Linked DNA regions of Homo sapiens: region 1 is linked to region 2. The links are contacts of gene promoters, found by promoter capture Hi-C in blood cells and fetal thymus (Javierre and others, 2016). All regions are on one chromosome and are shown on one strand. Each heading gives the region's core, a stretch centred on a gene start or on the middle of the fragment in contact. The rest is flanking DNA. Distances are from core to core; before and after follow the strand shown. Region 1 has its middle 20 kb from the start of MIR99B. Region 2 holds the start of FPR1 (formyl peptide receptor 1).

Region 1 (4,458 bases), core at 404-2,903, 79 kb before region 2:
CCTTGAAGATGCCCCCTGAAAGAATCTTGGTATCTCCTAGTAGAACCCTGTCTCTAGAGGATGCATCTTAGAGGAACTTCTGTATATATGTCAGTATGCCTGTGTACAGATGCTCCTTAACTTATGGTGGAGTTTCATCCTGATAAATCTGTCATAAATTGAAAATATAGTAAGTCAGAAGTAATTTTCTACTTAATATTTTCCATGTATGATGGGATTATACTGAATGTGTACTCAGTATACTGAGTACTGAATGTGTATGGCTTTTGCACTATCGTAAAGATGAAAAATTATAACTTGAATCATCATAAGTCAGGGATGGTCTGTATGTAAGTGTGTGTATATATCTCCTACTTCAGTAGATAATGCTAAAAAATTTTCCCAAACAATTGCATGAATTTACACTCCCAAAAGTGTACAATATGAGAGTTACCATTGCCCCACATCCTTGCCAACCCTTGGTACTTTCCATTTTTAGCAATCTGATGAGTATGTAATGGTATCCACTATGACACTGATTGGTTTCTACCTCTAAAGAGGTCGAGGACCTTTTCTTATACAATTGGAGTTCATTGGATTTTCTTCTTGTAAAGTCACTTTTGAAGTGATTGGCCAATTTTGCTATTGGATTGCCTGATTTTTTTTTCTAATTGGATTTGTATATTCCTCAGTTGATGAGAATTGTTATGGATAAAGGTAGAATTTCATCAGACTCATTTCCACCTTCCATGGGATGGTCATATTATGTTTTTTTCTTGTATTTGAGCTTGTGATAAATACACTAAATGAGTTTCTAATGTTAAACCACCCTTGCATTCCTGACATAAACACATCTTGGCTATGATGCATTATCATATTTATATCTAGCTCTATTTAATTTGCAAACTCTGGCTTAATATTTGTGCCACTATATGCCTAATTAAGATTTGCCTATACTTTTATTTTTTTATATTGTTGAGTTTGGGTATTAATTTTATAATTAGCCACAGAAAATGAGCAAGAGTTTGAATAGGAATAGAGTAATTTCTTCCTTAAGTTTTGGTACAATTTGCTGGTATACTTAAAGTTTAGCCATCTTGACCTAAAGTTTGCTTGGTGAGATGATTTTTACTACTGATTCTTCCGAATAGTTTTAGAACTATTCAGGTTTTCTACTTGTTTTCTGAGGCTATTATACTAAATTACATATTTTTATTAATTTATCCATTAATCTAAATGTCAAAGTATGTGAAATTGTTCAAAATATTATCGTATATTCTCAATGTCTGCAACATCAGTGGTTATGTCCTTTATTTCTGACATTAGTTACATGTGCCTTCTCTCTTTTCATTGTATTTAGACTCCCCAGAGGTTTATCAATTTTATTACTTTTTCACCAAACAAGTTAGGGCTTTGTTGATTCTGTTGTATGCATTTTAAAACATGTATTATTTAGTACTTATTTTATTATTTTCTTATGTCTACTTTCTTGAGTTTTTTTATCTCTTGAGAAGAAAGATCGAATTCAGTTTATCTTATTTCAATTCCAGTAATATGATTTTAAGCTATTCATATCTGTCTTAGTCCATTTAGTCTTGCTAAAAAAGCAATACCTGATGCTGGGTAATTTATACAGAAAAGAGGTGTATTTGGCTCACAGTTCTGCAGGCTGTATAGAAAGCATGGAACCAGCATCTGCTTCTGGTGAGGCCTCAGGCCGCTTCTACTCATGGCAGAAGGTAAAGGGGAGCCACCACGTGCAAAGATCACATGAGGAGAGAGAAAGCAAGAGATAGGGACAGTGCAGGTGGCAGGTTCTTTTTAACAACCGCTCTTGTAAGAATTAATAGAGCAAGAACTCACCCATTACCAAGAGGACAGTACCAAGCCATTCATGAGGCACCCACTCCCATAACCCAAACATCTCCCATTAGGTTCCATCTCTAATACTGGATAAAATTTCTTAATTTTCTTTTTTTTTTTTTTTTTTTTATTATACTCTAAGTTTTAGGGAACATGTGCACATTGTGCAGGTTAGTTACATATGTATACATGTGCCATGCTGGTGCGCTGCACCCACTAATGTGTCATCTAGCATTAGGTATATCTCCCAATGCTATCCCTCCCCCCTCCCCCGACCCCACCACAGTCCCCAGAGTGTGATATTCCCCTTCCTGTGTCCATGTGATCTCATTGTTCAATTCCCACCTATGAGTGAGAATATGCGGTGTTTGGTTTTTTGTTCTTGCGATAGTTTACTGAGAATGATGGTTTCCAATTTCATCCATGTCCCTACAAAGGATATGAACTCATCATTTTTTATGGCTGCACAGTATTCCATGGTGTATATGTGCCACATTTTCTTAATCCAGTCTATCATTGTTGGACATTTGGGTTGGTTCCAAGTCTTTGCTATTGTGAATAGTGCCGCAATAAACATACGTGTGCATGTGTCTTTATAGCAGCATGATTTATACTCATTTGGGTATATACCCAGTAATGGGATGGCTGGGTCAAATGGTATTTCTAGTTCTAGATCCCTGAGGAATCACCACACTGACTTCCACAATGGTTGAACTAGTTTACAGTCCCACCAACAGTGTAAAAGTGTTCCTATTTCTCCGCATCCTCTCCAGCACCTGTTGTTTCCTGACTTTTTAATGATTGCCATTCTAACTGGTGTGAGATGATATCTCATAGTGGTTTTGATTTGCATTTCTCTGATGGCCAGTGATGATGAGCATTTCTTCATGTGTTTTTTGGCTGCATAAATGTCTTCTTTTGAGAAGTGTCTGTTCATGTCCTTCGCCCACTTTTTGATGGGGTTGTTTGTTTTTTTCTTGTAAATTTGTTTGAGTTCATTGTAGATTCTGGATATTAGCCCTTTGTCAGATGAGTAGGTTGCGAAAATTTTCTCCCATGTTGTAGGTTGCCTGTTCACTCTGATGGTAGTTTCTTTTGCTGTGCAGAAGCTCTTTAGTTTAATTAGATCCCATTTGTCAATTTTGTCTTTTGTTGCCATTGCTTTTGGTGTTTTGGACATGAAGTCCTTGCCCACGCCTATGTCCTGAGATTCAATGCCATCCCCATCAAGCTACCAATGACTTTCTTCACAGAATTGGAAAAAACTACTTTAAAGTTCATATGGAACCAAAAAAGAGCCCGCATTGCCAAGTCAATCCTAAGCCAAAAGAACAAAGCTGGAGGCATCACACTACCTGACTTCAAACTATACTACAAGGCTACAGTAACCAAAACAGCATGGTACTGGTACCAAAACAGAGATATAGATCAATGGAACAGAACAGAGCCCTCAGAAATAATGCCGCATATCTACAACTATCTGATCTTTGACAAACCTGAGAAAAACAAGCAATGGGGAAAGGATTCCCTATTTAATAAATGGTGCTGGGAAAACTGGCTAGCCATATGTAGAAAGCTGAAACTGGATCCCTTCCTTACACCTTATACAAAAATCAATTCAAGATGGATTAAAGATTTAAACGTTAAACCTAAAACCATAAAAACCCTAGAAGAAAACCTAGGCATAATTTTCAACCTTTCAAGAGTTCAATAATATTTTTGTTTCAGATCTCCATCTTAACAACAAAGTGATCAGAAAATATACTTTTTGTGATATAAATCCCTTAAACTGTGTTGAGATTTTCTCAATGGCTCAGTCTCTGATCAAGTTGTACAAATATTCTGTGTGTGCTTTAATAATGCATGTATTGTTGCTGTTGTGAGTGTACTGTTTTGTCTTTTGTTTAAGTCAATTTGTTGATGATGTTGTGTAGATTTTCTTCATCTTCACTGACTTTTTTCATGTTTAATTTACTCATTAATGAAAGAGATATGTTAAAAAATTTCCCACTATGATTATGAATTTGGACATTTTCTGTAGTTCTGACAACTTTGGATTTATATATTTTGAGGCTGCATTATTTAGTGCATACTAATTAGGTTTTTAAATGTTCTGATGAAATTATTATCATTGTGATATGATCATCATTACTGGTAAGTATTTTGCCTAAACACTTTGCCTAAATAAATTTTACTTTAGCTGATGTCAATATATCTACCCAGGTTTATTTTGGTTAGTATTTGCTGCATTATATATAAATTTTCATCTTTTTTCTTTGACATTCCTGTATCACTATGTTTTAGATGTGTCTCTTGTAAATGGCATACAGTTGGATTTCTTTTGGCGCAGTCTAGCAAACTGATTTTAACTGAAGCCTTACATTACACTTAATGCAATTACTAATATATTTGAATTTAAATCTATTATTTTTGTACCTGCTTTGTGTTCTGCGTTTTTTTTTTTTTGTTTTTTTGGTTTTTTTTTTTTTTGCCTTTTCAATGATTCCTTTTTTCCTCTTTCTGGCCTACATTTGGACTGCTGGAGTAATTTCTATTCTTCTTAGTTCATTTCTTTCCCACAAGTTTAAAAGTTTTGCACTCTATTGCTAAGTTTAT
Region 2 (4,311 bases), core at 883-3,382:
CCGCCTCCCAGGTTCAAGCAATTCTCCTGTCTCAGCCTCCTGAGTAGCTGGGATTTCAGGTGCACGCCGCCGTGCCTGGCTAATTTTTCTTTTTAATTGTATTTTAGTAGACATGGGGTTTCACCATGTTGCCCAGGCTGGTCTCAAACTCTTGAGCTCAGGCAGTCCACCTGCCTCAGCCTCCCAAAGTGCTAGGATTACAGGTGTGAGCCACTGCGCCCGGCCTGGTCTTCTCTTCTAATGCTTGCAGCAGCCTTCCTCAAAATTGTTACTATGAGGGTCACTGTCTTTATGGTACCCATTTTGCAGACGAGGAAAGTGCGACTTAGAGCATTTCAGTTAATTCCTTAAAGTCACCCAACAGCCCAGGCTGTCGAATTCCAGCAAAAGTCTCTTTCTGCCTCTGCCCTGCCACGCTACTGGCACAGAAGAGCTGTCTAATGCACTAGTCACTCACCACATGTGGTTTTCAAGCACTTGAATTGTGGCTAGTCCAACTGGAGACAGGCTGTAGGAGTAAAATACCCATCAGATTTCAAAGACTTAGTATGAAAAAAATATTGTGACCATCTCATTAATAGTTTTTATATTGACTACATGTTAAAATGATAATAATTTGGCTATTTAAGTTTAGGTTAGATATTTTATTAAAATTAAGTTCGCATGTTTCTCTTCACCTTTTTAAAGTGCCTACTTGACACTTTGAAATTACATATGTGTCTCACATTTCTAATGAACTTTGATACTCTACAATCTCAGAAACAACTCAGAGATGTCTCCCTCCCCTACCACCCATCCAACCACCAAAATACCCTGAGGACTCTTTGTCCTCAAGAATCTCTAAGGCAACCAGTTCAGAAGATTGTTGCAATGAATGATGAGGATTCTGCAATAATGAGCTGGAACATACCAGAGAGGAAAACCTGTGCAATTTTGTCCAATTATGGTTCAAGGGAAAAATCCTGTGATTTGCAATGAACACAGGCCTTGGTGGCTGCCATCGATGAAGGACTTTATGCTTGATAATCATTGTACCACATCCTCAACTTTCTTGCCTCTGATCTCAACAAACTCAGCATTGATTATACATCATCATCCCTGTGTGACGGAAGAGGAAACTAGGAGCTTGATGAGAAATGACAGCCAATGTCTGCAGATTCATGAGAGGGCAGGGCTGTATTCCGCTACTGGGTCCTATGCACCATGCAGAACCAGTGTCTTCACGTGGAGACTCATCACTGATCCGAAAGGTGACTGCTTCTGTATTACACTCATTTCCCCATGACCCATCATAAAGTCGTTAGGGCTCTTTTGCTTTCTCCTGAAAGCTTCAAACCAAACATCCTTTCCCATCCCGACTCAAGCCCTCAAGCTGATGCCCTTGCCTCTTGCTCCACCAGATTCTCCTCCTGCTGGCTCCTGCATCACTGTTCTCTGCCCTCATCTCTGTAACCAGAAAACAAGTGTTTCCATCCAAGAATTACCCTCTACTGGTCCCATAAAACTCATTCCCCCATTTACTCAAGAACTTCCCTCCTTCACTTATCCCTTCTCTCTCCTGCAGCCTCATAGTGTCTCTATATTCCATCATTCCCATCAGGACCCCAATAAAGTCTAGAGCCTATTTGTTTATTTATTTATTTACTTATTTATTTGAGATGGAGTCTCACTCTGTCACCTAGGCTGGAGTACAGTGGTGCAATCTGAGCTCACTGCAACCTCCACCTCCCAGATTCAAGCAATTCTCCTGCCTCAGCCTCCCAAGTAGCTTGAATTACAGACGCCCACCACCACGCCTGGCTAATTTTTGTATTTTTAATAGAAGTGAGGTTTCAACATGTTGGCCAGGCTGGTCTCGAACTCCTGACCTCAAGTTATCCACCTGCCTTGGCCTCCCAAAGTGCTGGGATTACAAGCATGAGTCACCGTGCCCGGCCTGTTTAGAACCTCTTTAAAAAAATTATTCTTCAACTCCACATCCTTCTTCAAACAAAGAGTCTATTGTGTTCACCAGTGTATTAAGTGTGTCTATGTCAAGCTACCCAGTCCCCCAGAATATGTTTCTTACCTGGACTGTTCACCAGCTGTGGTCTTGCTCTGGGTAGTTCTAGGTCTGGGTCTCCTGGGGAGAGTGACTCAGGCTCTAATGATTGCAGCAAAACATACACCAAGGAACAGGAGGAGGGGTAAAGGAACTAAAACCAGCTGGGTAGCAGGAAATAGGAAGTCTGAGCTTCTTCTGATTTTTGATGGCCCCAAGAATACACCAATATACTGTCTGCTTTAATGGCATTAGGACAGTGGGCTGGGCCTGTTTAGAAACTCATGTACCTGACTGTATTTCTCAGCCTCAGTCTCTGTGGGATGCAGAGGTTCAGTGCTCTCAACAACAAGGGCCAAGAAATCCAAGTGTCCGGGCCCCTGCTCCCTCCAAGGGTCAAGGTAAAGAAAGCAGCAAGCACTGTGGTGAGAAGAATCAGAGGGAGGCAATGAAAGGAAGAGAAGAAGTCATGAGGGATGGAGACCAGAAACACAGAGAGAGGTAAGGGAGTGGGGGAAGTTGAGACAGTTGGCAGGACAGCGCGTCCACACCCATGCACACCACCAAGATTAACCCCATAATCCTCTGATCTTGTGGAAGCTCATTTGTAGTCTTCTAGCCCAAAGAAATAACCGTTTTTCTGAAATGTTAAGCATCCTTCCAAGGGTATCAGAGTGATATGGAGAAATATGGTAAGACAGTTACAGAATCAGAGATAACGACACTGATTCTAAAAGCATTATTACCAAGGCATTGTTGCATTAAGACTGTTTTTTCTTTTCTTTTAGAGACAGTATCCTGCTACGTTGCCCAGGCATGTCTCAGACCCCTGGGTTTAGTGATCCTCCTGCCTCAGCCTCCCCAAATGCTGGGATTACAGGCATGAGCCGGGCTGTTTTTAATTCTAAGTAATTTATAATTTACAATTACACCTAACAATGGCTTCAACAAGGGGTGTCCAATCTTTTGCCTTCCCTGGGCCACACTGGAAGAAGAAGAATTGTCTTGGGCCACACATAAAATACACTAACACTAACGATACCTGATGAGCTAAAAAAAAAAAAAAAAAAAAAAATCCCCCAAAAATCTGATAATGTTTTAAGAAAGTTTATGAATTTGTGTTGGGCTGCATTCAAAGCCATCTTAGGCCATGGGCTGGACAAGCTTAGCTTAGAACCAAGACGAAATTTATGGTTTACTTTACAAGAATTTTGCAAGAGGGTAATACTAGGTTAGGTTATATCTGGAAAATATCATCAAGAACTACATTCATTTTAATCTTTTCTCTTTTTTATCCCTAATATGGTGACTTTTTTTCCTGGGGATTGCCACTTCATGGCTCCAAGAAAGCTACCACAGCTCCTGACTTCACATTACAGCAGGGGTCCCCAACCTCCAGGCCATAGACCAATACACAGACCGATACCGGTCTGTGGCCTGTTAGGAAGTGGGCTGCACAGCAGGTGACTGGCAGGTGAGCAAGAGAAGCTTCATCTGTATTTATAGCCACTCCCCATTGCTGGCATTACTGCCTGAGCTCTGCCTCCTGTCAGATTAGTGGCGGCATTAGATTCTCATAACAGTGTGAACCCTACTGTGAACTGTGCATGCCAGGGATCTGGGTTGTGTGCTCCTTATGAGAATCTAATGCCTGATGATCTGTCACTGTCTCCCATCACTCCCAGATGGGACTGTCTAGTTGCGGGAAAGCAAGCTCAGGGCTCCCACGGATTCTACATCATTGTGAGTTGTATAATTATTTCATTGTGTATTACAATGTAATAATAATAATAGAAATAAAGTCTACAATAAATGCAATGTGCTTAAATCATCCTGAAACCATCTACCCCGCCACCCCATGGAGAAATTGTTTTTTATGAAACTGGTCCCTGGTGCCAAAAATGTTGGGGACTGCTACACTCCAGCATCCCACACCAGGAGGATGGGGATGAGATGGAGAATCACTGAAGATCTTTAATCAGAAGGGTGATATGTTCATTTGTACTTTATAAACATTTGTGTTTGTATTTTATAAACATTTTCTTGGGATCATAACAACAGATGCATTTTAGAAGATTCCCAAGGTATGAAGGGTAACAAATGAAGACGTGCCTAGGAGTCACATGGAAGCCAACACTTTGTAAGGGGATTAAAATAAAGGGAATGGCAGAGGACATCATTATGCACAGAGGAGAAGGGCCCAAATGTCAAGAGAAAACAAGAGACAAGGGACTCCACAGAGAGTAATTGCCAGAAAAATTTGTAGGTCT

Evidence for each region. Contacts are between HindIII fragments. The CHiCAGO score rates a contact against its expected background, and 5 or more counts as called.
Region 1: a fragment that was not itself captured here is called in contact with the fragment with the promoter of FPR1 in region 2 in 1 of 17 cell types (monocytes); the score reaches 5.6 in monocytes.

What each region holds. Positions count from the first base shown.
Region 1 is chr19:51,670,734-51,675,191 of GRCh38, forward strand. No RefSeq gene overlaps it. Among named protein-coding and RNA genes, the nearest start is that of MIR99B, 20 kb to the right of the region's middle. The HindIII fragment of the contact is 5,735 bases long and covers 1-4,458 here.
Region 2 is chr19:51,749,746-51,754,056 of GRCh38, forward strand. FPR1 (formyl peptide receptor 1) reads right to left here and starts at 2,133. Exons shown (of 2, transcript NM_002029.4): 1 at 2,069-2,133. The HindIII fragment of the contact is 1,877 bases long and covers 1,327-3,203 here.